Linked DNA regions of Homo sapiens: all the other regions are linked to region 2. Evidence: promoter capture Hi-C in 16 types of primary human blood cells and fetal thymus (Javierre and others, 2016). All regions are on one chromosome and are shown on one strand. Each heading gives the region's core, a stretch centred on a gene start or on the middle of the fragment in contact. The rest is flanking DNA. Distances are from core to core; before and after follow the strand shown. Region 1 overlaps ZDHHC6 (zDHHC palmitoyltransferase 6). Region 2 holds the start of SMNDC1 (survival motor neuron domain containing 1). Region 3 has its middle 19 kb from the start of MIR6715B. Region 4 overlaps ACSL5 (acyl-CoA synthetase long chain family member 5). Region 5 overlaps VTI1A (vesicle transport through interaction with t-SNAREs 1A).

Region 1 (3,825 bases), core at 398-2,897, 2.1 Mb before region 2:
TAAGGTGTAGAAGTCCCCAAAATACTTCGGAGGTAGGCACTATTATTTATATTTGATTGAGGGAACTGAAGCACAGAGAGGCAACTTGCCCATAGCTATGCACTGAAAACAGATGGAGCTAGGGCTTAACCCCAAGCAGTCTGACTCCAGATTCTATGCACCAAACCCCTGTACTATTTGCTGCCCCCACTTTGAGCATTTCTCTTAAGTTGTTATAAAAACCAGTAGATTGAAACTTTGTGTTTTTTTTTTTCTTAAGTTTTATAATTGTTTCTTTTTAAAGTAAAGATTAGCTCGGGATGTTCTTTAAAAAATAGTTGGGGTTAATCATAAATTAACCTCTTATGACGGCCGTGATATAGAAATGTATATGTTAGGCCAGGTGTGGTGACTCATGCCTGTAATCCCAGGACTTTGGGAGACCAAGGCAGATGGATCACCTGAGGTCAGGAGTTCAAGATCAGCCTGGCCAACATGGTGAAACCCTATCTCTACTAAAAATACAAAAATTAGCCGGGCATGGTGGTGTGTGCCTGTAATCCCAGCTGCTCCAGAGGCTGAGGCAGGAGAATTGCTTGAACCCGGGAGGCAGAGGTTGCAGTAATCTGAGATCGTGCCACTGCACTACAGCCTAGGTGACAGAGCAAGACTCCATCTCAAAAAAAAAAAAGAAAGAAATATATATGTTAGAAAAAGTCTAAAAAGGAAATTTACAAAGACTACAAGAAGATAGTTCCCTGGAAAAGACAGTGTGATGGTGTGCCAAAAACACCTTTCCTGATCATACACATATAAGTAAACACCCATACCGAGTTCCCCCTGACTCTAGTTAGGAGCTGTCTTTAACCACATTAGTCCCTATTCGGGATCATCAAATTTGGGAAATACCTGTTCCTAGCTTGTTATGAACATTTAAAAATCTTATTTTTTTCCCCTTCAAACTGTGCTTATAATAGATAGCAAAGTGGGGAATAAAAGTCTAACTACAAGCTTATTAATTTGAAGTAATAGGACTTACTGCTTTCAGTAATGTCACTGTCATCCATCAGACTATTTCACCTCAATTTCATTTTCTCCCTCAGGTGTTTCAAGAATAAGGGGTTGGTTCCCTAGAAAATGTGTGGAAAAGTGTCCCTGTGATGCTGAAACAGATCAAGCCCCAGAGGGGGAGAAGAAAAATAGATAGCTGCTGTTAAAACAAAATTATCCTTTAAGTCTGCTTAATTACTTGAAAATTGTACATATTACTAAAGAATTATGCAATGAGCCTACTCTGGTTAAGATGTTCTTTTCCTCAAAGGTGCCCTAGTGCCATGATTTAAATATTTTTATTACCATTTTGAAATGGAGAAGCCATTCTGCATATGCCTTTGAATTCCTGCCCCTCTTTACCACCTCTTCCTCCCCCTCAAAGGAAAAACATTTCATCCAAGTAAGTTAACGGCATTTTCTGTAGGATTTTCTTATGCACTGCACACTCTGGACCTCACCTGCAGATACAGTTCCCCCCTTGCCAGGAGCATCTGCATGTGGTACTTCTCTTTTCCCTCAGTTGATATTTCTTATATGATATTCTAGATACTATAGAACTCAATTTGTCAGATTCAGTATAACCTCAGATTTTGTTACCTGTCTTTTAAAAATGCAGATTTTGTCAAATCAAATAAAGATCAATGGATGTTGGGTATAATCAGTTTTTACTTAAAGCATTTTTCTTTTTGCTGACTAAAAAGGTTCATCTTAGTTCCTTATGGAAAAACTGCTCTGCTGCCCTGTGGACAACTGGCATCTTAAAACGTGGCTTAAGACATGACACACTTGCTTCAAGATATTAACCCTATTAATGGGATATTGCGGTCATAGTGATGGCAGCGGATGGCAGTGGTGGCCTGAGGGGTGTTGAGGGGGAGCCGTGATAGGCAGGAGCCAAGCGTAGCTACAGCTGTCCAGCCGTGGCTGCGGACCCGGGCATCCTTGTGCTCTAGGGGGCCGAGGGGAAATACCCCCCCCACACCCCCCCCCCAACAACTGCTTGGCCTCTTCCTGCTCCTGGCACTCGCTCTGGAGCAAAGGTGAGGCCAAGCCCGGGTGCTGTGAGGACCTGGCCAGGTGTACGTGAGCTCTGAGTGGTGCTGACACCAGCGCCCTGCCGCCTAGGCCCCCTCTGGACTTTGGGCTGCCAGCCACAGAGGATTCCAGCTGGGGAAGCAACACCCCAAGGATCCCGTGGCAGTAGTGTTCTAGACTTTAAACATAGTGATATCAAACTACTCATGTACCCTTGAGTAAAAAGCTGAAGCTTGTGTGAGTGGTAGGATCCAAGCTGGTGGGCTTGGATGCTTAAATTGGGCTTGTCTAAACATAACAGTGGAATCACAGAAGGAAAGAGAAAGCCTATTTCTCTGGACTTCAGAAACCTTTCCAAGGCAGGGAATGTGAAGCTTTGGGGGCCAGGCCTGTAATAGTTGAGGATAAGGGAAGAGCACTTGGGAATTCAGCAGTGAACAGACAGGTAAAATATATGTAAGATGGAGTCATGTTATTGTGAAGCAAGAAGGTAGGACAGTCTTGAGTTGGCATTTGAAGCAGATGAGGGGACAAGTCATGTGCTTTGGGATATTTGCATTTTAGAGACAGCAGCAAGAACAAAAACAGGCTGGACCTGTGTCTGACACGTTTGAGAAACAGGAAGGTAACTAGTGAGGTTCAGCTGTAATGCGTGAGGGGAGAATAGGAAAGGAAGTGAAGGCGAGAAAGTTAAAGTGATAATGGGAGCTAGACTTTAAAAGTTAATTCCTGCCTACCCTTTTGTTTCAGATCCTTAAGAATAGATATTTCTTTGGCTTTTCTGGGCTCAAAATCTAGAAAGACCATCCAAGAACATTCTCTTTAACTCCAGTTGGAGGCCAGAAAAGAATACTATTAATATTCAAGATTATAATTAGAGTACAACAAAGATGGTAAAAGAATGGATATGACTTGTGCTCAGTTGGAGTTTTGGCTCAGCTGGTATTTGTTTTATTCTTTACAGCTATGGGATAAGAAGGTTTGGTCTTCAGAACTTACTTTTCTTCACTAACCTGTTCGCAGACTAGAATCATCTGTGGGTCTTCTTAACAATCTCAGTGCCCAGGCTGTATCCGGCCATTTAAGCCAGAATCCCTGGAGTGGCAACCAGGCATTAGTGGTTTTTTTGTTTTGTTTTTGTTTTTTTTTTTTGAGACAGAGTCTCACACTTTCACCCAGGCTGGAATGCAGTGGTGCGATCTCGGCTCGCTGCAAGCTCCGCCTCTCGGGTTCATGCCATTCTCCTGCCTCAATCTTCTGAGTAGCTGGGACTACAGGTGCCCGCCACCACGCCCAGCTAGTTTTTTGTATTTTTAGTAGAGATGGGGTTTCACCATAGTAGCCAGGATGTTCTCGGTCTCCTGACCTCATGATCCGTCCGCCTCGGCCTCCCAAAGTGCTGGGCATTAGTGTCTTTTTAAACTTCCTAGATAATTCTATTGTGTACCCAAGTTTAAGAACAGATACTGTACTTGATTTTTAAGGGGTCCTTGTTTAAGACTGATTTTCATCATGGTCCATGAGGAAAGAAACACCACAACGTAAGTATCTGTAATAGTTTATTTTAAAGACTTTACATTTACAAGTAGAAACAACATGTGTTATCTGTGGGTAAGGTAGAGCAGGAACTCTAATCCAAGGGTGGGGGAGATCAGTTGGTTCCTTCACAGAAAATAAGCCTGTTGTGTGGGCATCTTGCTTGCCTGTAGATCTTTGTTCCCAGTTCAGGAGGTTTTTATTCAGTGCTTGCTTCATTTA
Region 2 (3,995 bases), core at 345-2,844:
AGTTCCTCCTCGCATCGGTTCTTAAAACACACAATTACAATAACAGAAGTTCTCTAAAACTACATTTTATTTTAAACGAATATTTATTTAAAAGCACATGCTTTCTGTTTTGTCTGCCTTCTTAATTCTAGCTACACACTGCTGCCCTCTGCTGCAATTTCAATCTTTCACACTCACAAACCCGACCTAGTTTCCATCTATACAGGTTATCTGACTCACTGCAAGGGTTATGTGTGTGTGTGTAGAGAACAAAAGGGAAGGCTCCTTGAAAAGAAAACTAGGAACTAAAGATGTTGGCACAGTTCAAAAGAGCCCATCTGAGAAGTGGGCCTTTTTTTTTTTTTTTGAGACGGAGTTTCACTCTTGCTGCCCAGGCTGGAGTGCAATGGCACGATCTCGGCTCACCGCAACCGCCGCCTCCAGGTTCAAGCGATTCTCCTGCCTCAGCCACCCGAGCAGCTGGGATTACAGGAATGCACCAACATGCTCGGCTTTTTGTTGTTGTTGTTGTTGTTGGTTTTTTTTTTTTGTATTTTTAGTAGAGACGGGGTTTCTCCACGTGGTCGAGCTGGTCTCGAACTCCTGACCTCAGGTGATCCGCGAGAAGTGGGCCTTTTTATGGATCCAGCAACAAACTCCCAACCTCCCAGGAAAGGTTGCTTCCTGTCATCTATATAAAACTTTGTGTCTCAGGCCTTTATTGCTTTTTTAATTGAAATAAATTATATATATATGGTTTAAAAAAAAAAGAAAAGGAAAAAGGGTAAACAGCAAAGAGGGTAATCAATAAAACATTTGGCTTCCACTCCAAACCTCTGAACAGTTTTGTGTATCCGTCCAGAAAGCGTATATATTATTACAAACATACACAAGGGGCATTTCTTTTTGAACACAAATGTGAGTATTCCTACCACTCTTTACCATTCTAGACTAACTTGGACGTTGTTCCCTATCAGGCGAGATTAACCCAACTAAATTAAAACCAAGTAGGTTTTAACAAAACAGATTTTAAAGAAATCAATCTTCTCTCCAATAGGTTATTTCTGTCACGATTTAATTAGCTTTCTGTTACTACTAAGGCTTGTATCATATAAAGTAGTGGTTCTCAGGCTGGGCGCGGTGGCTCACGCCTGTAATCCTAGCATTTTGGGATGCCGATGCAGGAGGATAGCTTGAGCCCAGGAGCTGGAGACCAGCCAGGGCAACGTAAAGAGAGCCCCCACCAACACCCCCCGCCACCCACCACCACCGCCCCGGAAAAGCAGTGGTTCTCAAACGTCAGCGGACATTGGTATCATCTGGTGAGCTTATTAAAACAAGAGTCTCTGGATTCAGGAGGTCTGGGGTGGGGCTTGAGAATTTGCATTTCCAATAAATTCCAAGCCGGAACTCCAGGAAGATAACCTGCATTCCGCGCCTGGCGAAGCCCAGCTACGCCATTTCCTTCCTAGGCCCCGCCTACTTCGTGTCCCTGACAGCCAGGGACTGGCTAGAGGGCGCGCGGAGTCACGTGAGTCGAGCGACCTCGCGCGAGAGTTTGTATTTCTCGCGAGACTTCACCGTCTCTGTCTTTTCCTCCTTCCAGTGCCCGGCGTTCCTCCCTTCCCCCTCGCCGCCGACCGAGTTCTTCCTTTTCAGACCGGGTCGCCTTGCTGTCGTCGCGGTGATTTTCCTGCTACTGCTACTGCTGCTGCTGCCACCGCCACTACCACTGGGCTCATTTGCCCCGACCCCTTCCCGCCGCCCCGCCCCCAGCCCCACACAAGGTAACAACCCCCCTGAGGGAGAGAGTAAGGCCTGGCCGGGCCCGGGTCCCTCCCGAGGTGAAGCGGAGGCCCAAGGCTGAGGAGCCCGCCTCGCCGGAGACGCCCAGGCGCTGGCCCTGGATCCCGGAGCCACGGCCGTCTCTCAGCCAGAGCTGAGCCTCGGCGGCCCGGCCGGCGCTGGCCTCCGTGCGGCGGCGGCAAACACGGCCCGCAGGGGACCGGGTCGGGTGGGGCTGGGCGCCGCGCGGCTCCCTGTGGAGCCTGCCTGTTGGAGCGCGGCGGGGCTCCGGCGGTGGTCTTGGAGCTGGCGTGTGGATTTCCACGTCCGAATGATCGAGTTGTGGCGGGCTTTGAGGTGCTGCGTGGCGGGGAGGAGAGCAGCCTGGGTCGCTGTAACTCTTAGGGGGCCTTTGCAGGCTCCCAGCCTTTGGTTGGACGGGAATTTTACGAAGGAGAAGGGTCCTCGGAAACGTGGTACATTTGCTTATAAACCATCAAAAAAGGTTAATTGGTATCTTATTTTCAGGAAAATGACTGAGCTGGATTTGGCGAAAGGCACATTCGTTAGAATGCCTAAATGGGAGAGTACCTGTGCTGTTCTTTTTGCTGAAGATAATGCACCGATAAATATTTAAGCGACTGGGCGAAAGATTTTTGTTTTGGAGAGGCACTTTTAAATACACTCTTAATTGAATAGTTCAAGTAAAGATCGTAGTTTGTGTAGTTAATTTAAAAACGCACTTGTTTGGCTTTGGAAGCATACTGTAGTGCTTAAAAATAAGTATTTGGATTGTTTTTGAAAGTTTCGACTTTTCCAACAGAGTAGTGCTTTTTAAAAAGATAACACTGATTATTGAGCCGAATTCAGCACCTACCCTGTGGATAGGAGTTAAAAGAAAATTAGAAATTTCTTTGTATCTGTATGCTTTTTTAAAGTATGGAATGTATCTCAAGTTTATAATCCTCAGAATCTGTTGCCTTTAAGTTTGTGGTTTAGCTGAAGTCTAAACTGAGAGTAAAGGTAATGGTGGTAAATTAAGCTGCAGTGTTAGAAGGAGTTAGAGGCAAAAACTGGTAATTCAGGCAGACAGGGGAGTTAGTTTTTTATGCCTTGATTTTTGGTTTAGTTTTCATGGTCTAACCCTTTTTATTTTCCCTAGATGTCAGAGGATTTAGCAAAGCAGCTGGCAAGCTACAAAGCTCAGCTCCAGCAAGTTGAAGCTGCATTATCTGGAAATGGAGAAAATGAAGATTTGCTAAAATTGAAGAAAGATTTACAAGTAAGTATGGGTAGACAATTGTACTTTTTCTCTGTTTTTCAAATTATTGCTTGAATCCCTAAGTACCCAAAGCGCCTTTTGAGGGGTTACACCCCACCCTATGTATATATGTAAATTCTGTAGGTACCATTGCTTGTAGAAGTAGGGTTGCTTCCCCAGTTCTCAGGTTTCTGTACATCAGAGTGAAATATTGTTCTTTGTTATATAAATCTTGTGTGCTTACATAATTTTTAAAAACTAAAGTTGATAGAAATTTCCAAGTCTGTCAGATTTTCAAGACGAGAGGTACATGTAACTTCACAATGAAAAACGCTTTTAGTTTTTAAGACCTGGCAAATGAAATTTAGTTCAAAAAGTAACAAAGATTGAAGGAGAAAAATAGAACCTTAAGATTCTTTTTAATACCACAAGATTCTTTGAAAATGCGTGCCTTTTTTTTTTCCCCAAAGCTAGTGGATTACATTTTGTATTGAAAACACACCACAAAAATGCCTAAAGAGAGACAAGTGCTTTGTATAATTGTTACATAGATGTTCAGACTTAAGGCTAGGTTTTACAGTAAAGTTGTTGACACTTGTGGAAATTGAACTATGTGGTGAAAAGGAGATCTTTGTCATGGTAGAGTTTAGTAGATAATGAAACCTTTTTTTGAAAACCTGCACTGGGATTTCAAGACAAACATAGAGCCATCATAGTAAATACCTTTTGTGTTTCAGGACACCAGACTGATTCAGAAAAATGCCATATATAATTTGCAAATATATATGACTTTTAAGAGCTTCCTTTAAATTCTGAACCTGATTTTTAAAAAGTTTCAAGGGTGTTTTGATTAGAGATTGCTTTACCGACTGAGTACTAAACTCAAATCTGTATCCTGTCTAAAAATTCATTCCCTCCCTTTATTATCCCACTGCCCGTTAAAACTATTACTATTTTAGGGATATCAGAA
Region 3 (4,223 bases), core at 979-3,478, 2.0 Mb before region 2:
CCATAAAGTTACTCTGATTTCTCCCTTCCATACTTAGTCTAGGGAGAGAAATCTCTATGTGAAACCCACACTTATGAGTGAAGAGTTAGGCTGGGCGCGGTGGCTCACGCCTGTAATCCCCACATTGTGGGAGGCCGAGGAGGGCGAATCGCTTGAGCCCAGGAGTTTGAGACCAACCTGGGCACACGGGAAGATCCAGTCTTTACAAAAATACAAAAATTACCTGGACGTGGTAGCGTCCCAGCTACTCTGGAAGCTGAGGTGTGAGGATTGCTTGAGCCTGGGAGGCGGAGTAAAGATCCTGCCACTGCACTCCAGCCTGGGCAACAGAGACCCTGTCTCAAACAAAAAAAAAAAAAAAAAAAAAAGGAGAGGGAAAAAGAAAAAAAAGGGTGGGAAGTTAGGTTCCACCTCTTTGAGGAGGGAATACTTGGAATTCTTCTCCGTGGGAGATTTGTCTACTGTGCCCATTCATTTATTTCTTCAAGTACTTAGGTCAGTATGGACTCATGGATATTTATTTCATACTTTGAGTTATAACTGAATCACTACTATTTATTTTGTGGCTTAAATTGTTCCAGTTTTGGCCATTCCGTTTCAGGTGGCTTCTGTGTCTCTTTGACATGTAGCCATCGCTGTGGTGTTTTGTCTTGTTTCTGTGTATTTCCTTACTTTCTGGTAAGACAAGAAAGTCTCATTTTGCATATCCCTGCGCCAGTGCTAGAAGCAACCAGTTCTCTCCAACAAGCCCTGGCTGCTTTTGTTGGAGAAAGGTATTAGAAAGTTAGAGCTGACACTAGATACGCTCATTGCTACCGGAGTGTTGTTGCTTATGGGCCTTCTCAGTGGACAGAGTAGGGAAATGCGTGTGCATACTAACCCGTATGTATACATATCTCTATAACTACACATGCACCCATACACATATATCTGCATCTACATTAAACTAAACATGAGTTCCCATTGACGTCTCCAAATCTAACTCATCGCCATCACGGTTCATTGCAGTCTTCCCCATTACTTTTCTGTAAATTCCAACATTGAGATACTGGCTCCCACCATCCACCATCCATGTACTTTGTTCGATCCCTATGTGTGTGTTCGGTGATTTTAGACTTGTTAATCTGCATCCCCATGAGAAACAGTTTTACCAACTAGAGTACGATGATTATGAATAGTTCCTTTTGCCTTTAGTCTTAGAAAGTTTCTAGTGATTTCACAAGCGATGTAGGTCAGCATTCTTTCTCACTCATCCCATTCAGTAAGGTTATGCCATATATTTGTAACACTGTTAGATTCTTTTATCGCTGTTTGCATTCTATCTTGGGGTTGCCTAATTTCCCAATTGGTATTTTTTAAAGTTTGCTTTCCTTATGGCTTACTTTTGTGCTATTAAGCTCTATGGGTTTTGGTAAATACATAGTGTCATCTATCCACCACTATAGTATCCTACAGAAAAGTTTCCTCATCCTAAAATTATCCCCTGCACTTCACCTAGTCAACGCTCTCTGCTCCTCAAACTCTTGGAAAACACTGATCTGTTTTCTGTCTCTAAAATTTTGTCTTTTCTAGAATGTATATTTCCTTAATTTCTGGGAAGACAAGAAAGTCTCATTTTGCATATCTCCTGCCCCAGTGCTAGATGCAGTCAATTCTCCAAGAAGCCATGACTTCTTTTGTTGGAGAAAGGTATTAGAAAGTAAGCAGATAACGAGGTCAAGAGATCGAGACCATCCTGGCCAACATGGTGAAACCCCATCTCCACTAAAAGTACAAAAATTAGCTGGGCGTGGTGGCGCATGCCTGTAGTTCCAGCTACTGGGGAACCTAAGGCAGAAGAGTCGCTTGAACCCAGGAGGCGGAGGTTGCAGTAAGCGGAGATCACACCACTGCACTCCAGCCTGGGCAACAGGGCCAGAGTCTATCTCAAAAAAAAAAAAAAAAAAAAGAAAAAAAAAAGAAAAGAAAAAAGAAAGAAAGAAAGAAATGATGCTAGATATGCCCACTGCTGCTTGCGTGTTGTTGCTTCTGGGGTGCCATGTAAATAGAATCATACAGTACACAGCCTTTTCTGACTGGTTTCTCTAACTTAGTAATAATGCATGTAAGACTTATCCATGTTGTTGCACACACAGTATTTTTATTTTTATGCCAAAACATGTATACATTGTTCTCAAAATATTATTTTCTTGACAACATCTGGTTAAGCAGAATGTTTAATAAATGTCAGTAGGAGCCAGTGAAGAAGTGGGAAAAATTAGGTTTAGAAAATCGGACAGAGAGGCAGGACATGATGGTAACATTTATTACGTGTTAAAATAGCATTTCTGCGACATATTACAGAAAATTTAACAAAATTGCATGAAGCGCGCTTTGGGGGTTTCCAACACGAAATGCCTATACATTCCTGAAATCATATAGAGATATGCTTCTCCTCAAGCAAAGTTCTATTTTAAAAAATCTTGATTTGAAAACAAATTAATTAGGAGGATGTTTGTTTATATGTTTTTCATTAGAATTGTTCATTTTCCAGGCAGATTCTCAGAGTATTCCTATTAAAATATCCAGATTACTTTGGAATTCTAATCTGTTCTATTTATTTAAAAACTCAGTTTACAAATATAAGAGCACAATTACTATTGAAAATGAAGTGTAGTAAGTGGCACAAAGTTCTGATGTTTGGCTGTCTAAACCCAACATGAATTTCAGAAATCATCAACCAAATCAAAGACCCTGCAGCAGCAGTCCCACTGCAACCTTCCCTGCCCGAGGAGAAGGGCAATGAAAAGATCGTGGCCATGGTGAGGGTGTGTTGGGATGAATCTCTGGAGAAAAGACCCAGTTTCTCTTCCATCAAGAAAACTTTACGAGAGGCCAGTCCCAGAGGGTGAGTTAGATGTGCAACAGATATTTGCTCTCACTCAGTTAACCATTAGGATTTTAGAGCTGCTGGGCATGGTGGCTCATGCATGTAATCCCAGTGATTTAGGAGGCTAAGGCAGGAGGATCCCTTGAGGCCGGGAGTTCAAGACCAGCCTGGGCAACATGGTGAGTTTCTGTATCTATAAAAAATAAAATAAAATAAAAAATTAGCCAGGCGTGGTGGTGTGAGCCTGTAGTTTGAGTTTCTTAGGGGGGCTGAGAATTGCTTGAGCCCTGGAGGTCAAGGCTGCAGTGAGCTATGATTGTGCCACTGCACTCCAGCCTGGGTGACAGAACGAGACCCTGTTTCTAAAAAACAAAACAAAACAAAATTAAATCTATATGGCCGTGATTGGTTCTATGTGACTCATTCCCTTCCTCCCTCCTCCCTTCCTCCATTCCTCCCTTCCTCCCTTCCTTCCTTCCTTTCTTCCTTCCTCATACACTCACTCAGTGCTTACCATACACAAAACACTGTACTACATGCTGGTTACAGTGGAGTGAGAAATTTTTCCTTTATTTCATAAATGCCACAAAAATGGATCAGATATTAATAATTCTACTGCCTTCTTTGTCTATCTCAGGTGTCACTAATCAATTAAGGCCCTTGTTTCCAGGGAGTTTTGACATGGCTTCAGAGTCTTTTTCAAATCAGCATTCCAAGGGTTAGGCTAATCAATTTGGACTGGACTGTGGGATAAAAATTACTCACCACCCATAGAGTAGGTTATGACTTAAATTACGCATTCCTCTCCAACAACTTTCTCAATAGTAGCTTCCTTTACACCAGATAATTGTATCATCTTTTAGTACATGAATTTAGGAAGACATGCCCATGTTAGAGGTAGCTTGAGTTGGTAGAAAGAGCCCCAGGCTAGGAATCAGGTGTCTACTCTTAATTTGGACCTTCAGCTATGCATTATTTAAAAAAACAAAACAAAACATTTTTTGGAGTCAGGGTCTGGCTCTGTTGCACAGGCTGGAGTGCAGTGGCATGATCTTGGCTCACTGCAATTTCTGCCTCCCGGCTTCAAGTGATTCTCATGCTTCAGCCTCCTGAGCAGCTAGGACTGCAGGTGTGTGCCACCATGCCTGGCTAATTTTTGTATTTTTAGTAGAGACAGGGTTTCGCTATGCTGGCCAGGCTGGTCTCAGACTCCTGACCTCAGGTGATCTGCCTGCCTTGGGCTCCCAAAGTGCTGGGATTACAGGCAAGAGCCACCGTATCTGGCCTCAGCTATGCATTCTTAACACAATAGCCCTGGGTTCTGCATTTCCAAGCTCGTAATAGTTTTTAAATT
Region 4 (3,861 bases), core at 787-3,286, 2.1 Mb before region 2:
ACTTAAAGGAGATGCTGTGTGTAGAACAGTTGGTATGCTGTCAGGCACATGGGAAGTCCTCAATCAAATCTAGCTCCCCTTTCCTTCCCTTTTCCTCAGTTTTCACATCCTTGCCAATATCAGATGTTCTATTACGAGATGTCCCAAAAGAAAAGAGATGACCACGGTCTTGAACGATTACTGCCCCTCCACTTCTGTGCAAAGGTTTTAACAAGCCCTCATCTCTTTTTTTTTTTTTTCTTTTTTTTGAGATGGAGTTTCACTCTTGTCACCCAGGCTGGAGTGCAGTGGCGAGATCTCAGCTCACTGCAACCTCCGCCTCCTGGGTTCAAGCGATTCTCCTGCCTCAGCCTCCCGAGTAGCTGGGATTACAGGCAGCTGCCACCACGCCCAGCTAGCTTTTGTATTTTTAGCAGAGATGGGGTTTCACCATGTTGGCCAGGCTGGTCTCAAACTCCTGATTTCAAGTGATCTGCCTGCCTCGGCCTCCCAAAGTGTTGGGATTACTGGCATGAGCCACTGCGCCCGGCCAACAAGCCCTCATTTCTATTTAAACAGAGCACTTCTAGTTGTAGGGAACCATGGCCTGTCTCTGACCTAGCTTTACCCCAGACCTCAAATCCTCAACTTGAGCCACTCGCAACCTCACAACTCTTAGAATAGAATGGCCCATGAAGACTGGGAGATCCACCAGCTTCCCCAAAGAAGGCTAATAGTGTGGCCTGACCACAGCATTGCACGGGCTGTCTGACCTTCCAAACTCCAGATCTCATGTATTTATTCAAACAATGAGTTGAGAACCTAGGAAGTGTCAGGCCCTGCGCCAGGGAGGACAAGTTGGTGAGAGAGTCCCTTTCCGACCTCAGGATGTACAGACATAGAGGGGAGAAATAGACCCAGATGCATTTCCAGCAGAATGTGATAAGCAGTGATGGCTGGACTCATGGCTGCTGGGGTTACGTCACCCTTGCTTGATGCTGCCAGGCACAAGAGTCACCTCTGACTGCACTCCAGCTGAGGGTCTGCTCATCTGCTGAGGAGGCATATGAGAGACAGACAGGAGCAGACACTGTATTCCTGGTTTCTAAGAAGCTGGCAAATCCTATAGGCCAGGTGCAGTGGCTCACACCTGTAATCCCAGCACTTTGGGAGGCCTAGGCAGGCAGATAACTTGAGGTCAGGAGTTTGAGACCAGCCTGGCCAATATGGTGAAACCCTGTCTCTACTAAAAGTACAAAAATTATTTGGGCATGGTGGTGCATGCCTGTAATCCCAGCTACTCAGGAGGCTGAGGCAGGAGAATTGCTTGAACTGGGGAGGCAGAGGTTGCAGTGAGCCAAGATGTTGCCACTGCACTCAAGCCTGGGAGTCTAGGTGACAGAGTGAGGCTCCTCCAAAAAAAAAAAAAAAAAAAAAAAAAAAAAAACAAGAAGAAGAAGATTGTCTTGATTAAATATAAGAGTACCTACTGTGTACTGGTACTTCCCTGGCTTCATCTTCCCTCTCTCCATTCATTTCTCTCTCCTTCCTCCATCTCCAGCCTCCATGTAGTATCTGTGGTCTCACTATAGGTGGATGGTTAGGTATGCAATGACACGCTGATGTTGTTGTTGGTGTCTTTGCCCTCAAAAAATTACAATATAGCCTGGGAGAGACTATTTTAGGTCAGGCTAGGCTGAAATATTCTGTTTGGTCTGGATTAAAAAGTGTTTTCTCTTTTTTAATAATTAAATTTGAATGCATTTATCTGGGGTATGCCTGCTCTGAATTTTGCTAAAGTTTCCACCATTAGCATCTTATTACACACCATCTACTTTACTTCTCTATATTACTTGCCTGTCCTATAAGCATTTGCACTTACACTTCTTGTTTTATTTAGGTTTTTGTTCCTTTTATTATGCCAAATACACAAAAGATGGCTATAAAATTTTACACCATGCCTCTTTCAAGACATGTTCTGTGTTTAACCTTGAATACTGATCAATCGGAGGGGACTACCACAGAGTGACTCCATATCAGAATATGAAGGGAGAAATAAACAAAACCAATTACTCCTTTTTTAAAAGAAAACTAAGTCAGTTTTCAATGTTTTTTTATTTGTTTGTTTGTGTGTTGTTTTTGAGCCAGAGTCTTGCTCTGTCATCCAAACTGGAGTGCAGTGGTGCCATCTCGGCTCACTGCAACCTCCGCCTCCTAGGTTCAAGCAATTGTCCTGCCTCCTGAGTTGCTGGGATTACAGGCGTACGCCACCACGCCAAGCTAATTTTTGTATTTTCAGTAGAGATGGGGTTTCGCCATGTTGGCCAGGCTGGTTTCTAACTCCTGACTTCAGGTGATCCACCCACCTCAGACTCCCAGAGTTCTGGGATTACAGGTGTGAGTCACTGCGCCCGGCCTTAACTTTATTTTTTAAGACTCTGCCTCTGATATAGAATACTAATCACCTACACATTGGAGCTATAGATTCAATTCTACCTTTCAGACCACCAAAAAAAGGCTGATATCTCAGAAGGTACCAAGCCCCGGTGGTAGAGTCCCTTTCCAGTGCTTATTCCCTGAGGGTCTCCGGTGGTAGAGTCCCTTTCCAGTGCTTATTCCCTGAGGGTCTCCGGTGGTAGAGTCCCTTTCCAGTGCTTATTCCCTGAGGGTCTCCAGTGGTAGAGTCCCTTTCCAGTGCTTACTCCCTGAGGGTCTTTGAGATTCACCTTAGGACCCTCAGGGAGTGGGCATTGGGAAGGAAGTACTTAGGAATTAAGCAGCACCTGAGACTTAACCTGTGGCCTTACTTCCTAAAATACACTCAGCTCCATTCATCTGTCTCTCCCACCCCATTGGTCTCATTCATCAGTCTTACCCAACATAAAATTGAGGGCAAACCCCCAGCCCACCTCAGGGGAGCTATGCTGGATGCTCAGACCCACAAAAAGAGGTCTCTGTTTTGGTTCACCTTCCCCAAGAGAGTCGAGAGAAGGAAAGTGAGCCCCATGCATGCCCCACATCCTTCCTTCCCGTTGCTCCTCCTGACACAGGGTCTGAAGGCATGACCGAGACCAGGAGGGAGACAGCATGATGTGCCCGTGGAACTCAGCCGGCCCTTGATTCTAAGTCGCTTAAAGAAAGTCGGGGGTCAGGATGCCCCCTTGGCCTCTGTCACACCCTCACAAGACCCCCTTGCTGAATAACACCCCCTCGATGGTCCCCTTACCCTGCGAGGGGGCCGCATCTCTCAGTGCTTCTAGTGAATGGGGGCTTCCCGGCTCTGAGTTCTTCCTGCCACACGAGTCCCTGTCCTTCTTCCCTCGCTCGTGGTTCCTCCAGAGACAGGGTGGCTTCAGAGCGTCCATGCAGGCAGAAGGCCGGCCCAGAGTGTCCCCAGTTCTGCCCTGCTCTGAGCTGTCCCGAGTCAGGCCATGTCAGGCTTTCTAACGTGCTCGGGGACTTCACTTCCTGGTTTTAATTTTTTTTTTCACAACTGAAAGTGGAAGTGTTCTGACCAGGAGGGGAGAAGCTGCCAAAGCTACCCTGGCTCCGTGTCAAAGCCTTTCACCTCAGCCCCTAAGGGCCGACACAAAAGCCAGCTTGCCTCAACACAGTTGACCCTGCCCTCCTGTGGCCTATCATCTTTCAACTAAGATGAAAACAAACAAACTAAAATGACTTGAGGTGCCCCCTCAGATCAGAAGCCTCACAGAGGCAGAGGTGACGCTGTTCCCTGCTGGATTCGGAGGACAGGAAAGTCTGGCTAGAGGGTACCTCAGCCCTCAGACCCACACAAACACCTTCTACCCCGCCTCTCTCCAGTCGCCAGAGCTGCCTGCCTTGGTCTCTGAAGAAGTTCTGGCAAAGCCAAGAAAATAAGCA
Region 5 (3,694 bases), core at 897-3,396, 2.2 Mb before region 2:
TTAGTCCTGGAATCTGGAACAGGTTTCTTAATGTCTCTGTGCCTTAGTTTTCTCACTTACAAAATAGTGTCTTTTTCACAGAGCAGCTGTGAAAACTAAATGAGGCAATTCTTATAATGTACTTAGAACAGTGTCTCTTACTTGATAATTGCTAGATTAAAATTAACTCTAGTAACGATGATTGCAAGTGATGAAGAAGATACAGCAAGCACTATACAAGATAGCAGAAGTGGCTTACTTGTAGTTGCCATTAAAAAATAAAAACCAGGCCAGGCGCAGTGGCTCACCCCTGTAATCCCAGCACTTCGGGAGGCCGAGGCAGGTAGATCACCTGAGGTCAGGAGTTTGAGACTAGCCTGACCAACAAGGTGAAATCCCGTCTCTACTAAAAATACAAACATTAGCTGGGTGTGGTGGCGGGTGCCTGTAGTCCCAGCTACTCGGGAGGCTGAGACAGGAGAATTGCTTGAACTGGGGAGGTAGAGGTTGCAGTGAGCCGAGATCGTGCCACTGCACTCCAGCCTGGGCGATGGAGCGAGACTCCGTCTCAATAAATAAATAAATAAATAAATAAATAAATAAATAAATAAATAAAAACCAGTAACAACAACAAATTGGCCCAGGCCATGTCTGCTAAAATCACATGCAAAAATGCTGCCATGTAGTTTACCTTTTAAAGCTTTCTAATAAGTTCCTTCCGGAACCCTACCAGCTTATCACTAATAAAACCTGTATTCAGTGTTAGCGACTGAATAACTACAGTAGCATACAGATAAACCACACAATCACCTTTCAATTAATAGGCTTCAATTTATTATAAAGAAAAAAGATAATTTTAATTAGCCTTGATTTAAACAGTGATAGTTTAAATGATTATGTCTCAACATAAATGAGAAGCACCAATAAATAAAATCATTACTTAGCAAGAAAATTATTTAAAATAACTCTCTGAGATCATCAATTATTTAGTTCTAACAAGGTAAACAGGATCATCTGGAAAAATAACAGCAAAAATACTTGCAAGCCAAAATCTGAGCCTTAAGTATATTTTTGTTGAAGATATTTTATATGGATATTTAAAACTAAATTAAAAGTAGGTAAGACAGAAAAAGGAAACACACAACAAGCACTTAAAATGAAACCAAGAATGAGGCTAATGTGCACTTGTTCCATGTTGTCACAACATTTATGTGGCCAGTGCAGAGTGGGAGAAAAGATCATTGCAAGATGTGTAGTGTCCAAGAGACTAATACAAATCAGATGGTCAGCAGAAACACAATTAATCCCAATAGTCAAATCAAAAGAGTTTTTCTCCCAAGGTCCTCATCAAAAGGGCAGTATCGGCTGCGCACAGTGGCTCAGGCCTGTAATCCCAGCACTTTGGGAGGCCAAGGTGGGTGGATCACCTGCGGTCAGGAGTTCAAGACCAGCCTGACTAACATGGTGAAACCCTGTCTCTACTGAAAATACAAAATTAGCCAGGCATGGTGGTGCATGCCTGTAATCCCAGCACTCTGGGAGGCCAAGGCGGGCAGATCACTTGAGGGCACGAGTTCAAGACCAGCCTGGCTAACATGACAAAACCCCCTCTCTACAAACAAACAAACAAAGTAGCCAAGTGTGGTATTGCTCTGTAATCCCAGCTACTTGGAGCACTGAGGCATGAGAATCGCTTGAGCCCAAGAGGCAGAGGTTGCAGTGAGCCGAGATTGTGCCACTGTACTCCAGTCTGGGTGACAGAGTGAGACTTTATATCAAAAATAAAATAAAATAGAAAAGCAACACACTCATAGGGCCACAATGCATAGTAACAAGTTGAGTCATGCTTGTAGTAGTTAGCTTTTAAAACCCCAAATTAAGACACAATACTTTTAGTCCTTTTTTGCTCCATGTTTTACTGATGTATTTATATAAAAAAGTAGTAGATGAACCAGAGCTCTGAGTTTAGCAAACTAGGAACAAATATTTACTCTATCACTTAACAGGATTTGGGACCTCCAACAAGTTACTTCATCTTTCTAAGTCTCAGTCTCCCCATCCACAAAATGGGAGTGGTAACAGTGTTGAGAATCACTTGGCCAAGGTTCTCTCATGCTGCTACATGTCTTGCCTGGTCTGCCAAGAATACAAGGTCCTGAGGACTCTGTCTGAGCCATTTTTCAGGATTGGGTTTGCGGGGAGCTCAGGGAGAGGAAATAATGTGTCCCCCTGGGACAAACAACAGCCTTGCTTATAGGCTGCTAGAAAGTGGCACATTTTCTAGGCTCTCGTTCTATTCCTCTAAGGTATTCTAATGCTGTTGTAAGCATACATCTAGGCCTGCCTGCATCACCACTGTGGGAATTCAGACTCAGGAACTGATGCAACCAGCCTGAAACACAGGCAACTGCTATTGTTGTGGGTAATAAAAATCTTTTGTCTCTGACCTAGGAGTCTCATGTCTTAGAGAAGACATGAGACATAGTCATCTATGAAACTGTAGCAAGCAAGTGAGTCACTTGAGAGTTTGCAAATAGCAGAAAATATCAGACCCTTTATCATTTTTGACAAATAATATTGTCTCACATGGTTATTGAGAAAATTAAATATTATAAAGCAAGTAGTATTTTTAATCCAGTGTCTGGTACCCAGTATGCCTTTATCCAGCATTAGCTATTTACAGCTGTTATGAAACGTATTATGATGGAATAAAAATTAGAGATAGATATTTAATGAATCACCTTTGCTAAGAAGAATAAAATCCCAAGAAGCTACTAAAATCTCTTCAATTTAAAAATTGACAAATTCTGAATTATAAAATGCTAATCAGCAATGCTTCACATTTCCACAATGTATAAAACAGGCTAGAGGAAGACATTAGCTTAAACGGCTCTGGCTGTGTGTTAAAATACATTACTGTCTGTACATACCAGTTCTTTCGCTTCTTCAAGCTGTTTCTCCACATTTGCAACCATCTGTTTCTTTTCATCTGAAACAAACAATAATACCAAGAAATTGCTAAAGATACAAATAAATTTAATATTTTAAAACTTCAATTTTTATATGCCTTTTTCCTTTCTGGTCAATCAGATTACAGAACATAAGGCAAAAGAGCATATCATTCTTTGGTGGGTTTGAAACCACTTTAAGCCATTGATTCCAGGCTATCTAGAAACATATAATCTGATAGAATACCTAATTATTAAGAGACACCATTTTTAAGAGAGACCTATTTTTAAGAGAGACTAAAAATTATGTTGCCCTTTAGGAGAGACTAAGTCAACAAGAGCAGATTTGTGCTGGCCTAAGGAATCTGTGAAGTCATAACTTTAATAAATTGGGAATAACTGATTTGTTAATACAATTTAAAAGTTATATACAAAAACACTTCCTAAAACTGGGCAAAAACAATCCTTTAAAAAATTGTACTTTCAGTAGCATGGAGAATCAGGTGTAATGGAATAAATATTTGAAGTTAGGACTACTGATTCCAAACCGAAAGCTACTATCTCACTCAATGGTTATGGGATCCTGGGCAAGAAATTTTTCTCTTTTTTTCTGAGACTCACTCTGTACTCTCTAAAATGGAAATAAAAAATATCTACGGGATTACTTTTAGCTCCAATAAGCTTGATGCAAGTGAAATTACTTTAATATTATAAAGTGCTAAGTCTCTGTATGTGGTTTATTTTTCTAATACAATCAAGTTATAACC

Evidence for each region. Contacts are between HindIII fragments. The CHiCAGO score rates a contact against its expected background, and 5 or more counts as called.
Region 1: a contact is called between a fragment that was not itself captured here and the fragment with the promoter of SMNDC1 in region 2, in 1 of 17 cell types (non-activated CD4 T cells). The highest score is 5.5, in non-activated CD4 T cells.
Region 3: a contact is called between a fragment that was not itself captured here and the fragment with the promoter of SMNDC1 in region 2, in 2 of 17 cell types (total CD4 T cells and naive CD4 T cells). The highest score is 6.8, in total CD4 T cells.
Region 4: a contact is called between a fragment that was not itself captured here and the fragment with the promoter of SMNDC1 in region 2, in 1 of 17 cell types (non-activated CD4 T cells). The highest score is 6.6, in non-activated CD4 T cells.
Region 5: a contact is called between a fragment that was not itself captured here and the fragment with the promoter of SMNDC1 in region 2, in 1 of 17 cell types (total B cells). The highest score is 5.1, in total B cells.

What each region holds. Positions count from the first base shown.
Region 1 is chr10:112,428,165-112,431,989 of GRCh38, reverse strand. ZDHHC6 (zDHHC palmitoyltransferase 6) reads left to right here. Exons shown (of 11, transcript NM_022494.3): 11 at 1,083-1,690. The coding sequence ends at 1,186. It overlaps ACSL5 (acyl-CoA synthetase long chain family member 5), which reads right to left. Exons shown (of 21, transcript NM_203379.2): 21 at 3,614-3,825. Among named protein-coding and RNA genes, the nearest start is that of ZDHHC6, 17 kb to the left of the region's middle. The HindIII fragment of the contact is 1,309 bases long and covers 993-2,301 here.
Region 2 is chr10:110,302,519-110,306,513 of GRCh38, reverse strand. It overlaps SMNDC1 (survival motor neuron domain containing 1), which reads left to right and starts at 1,594. Exons shown (of 6, transcript NM_005871.4): 1 at 1,594-1,766; 2 at 2,927-3,046. The coding sequence starts at 2,927. RefSeq lists a silencer at 1,763-2,082. The HindIII fragment of the contact is 6,895 bases long and covers 1-3,995 here.
Region 3 is chr10:112,316,543-112,320,765 of GRCh38, reverse strand. It overlaps the pseudogene GUCY2GP. Among named protein-coding and RNA genes, the nearest start is that of MIR6715B, 19 kb to the right of the region's middle. The HindIII fragment of the contact is 4,938 bases long and covers 1-4,223 here.
Region 4 is chr10:112,375,793-112,379,653 of GRCh38, reverse strand. The region is part of intron 1 of ACSL5 (acyl-CoA synthetase long chain family member 5); the gene reads right to left. Among named protein-coding and RNA genes, the nearest start is that of ACSL5, 3.6 kb to the right of the region's middle. RefSeq lists enhancers at 2,805-3,305, 3,328-3,547, 3,306-3,806, 3,688-3,837. The HindIII fragment of the contact is 4,411 bases long and covers 1-3,861 here.
Region 5 is chr10:112,459,798-112,463,491 of GRCh38, reverse strand. It overlaps VTI1A (vesicle transport through interaction with t-SNAREs 1A), which reads right to left. Exons shown (of 8, transcript NM_145206.4): 2 at 2,910-2,968. Among named protein-coding and RNA genes, the nearest start is that of VTI1A, 14 kb to the right of the region's middle. RefSeq lists an enhancer at 2,188-2,482. The HindIII fragment of the contact is 2,929 bases long and covers 682-3,610 here.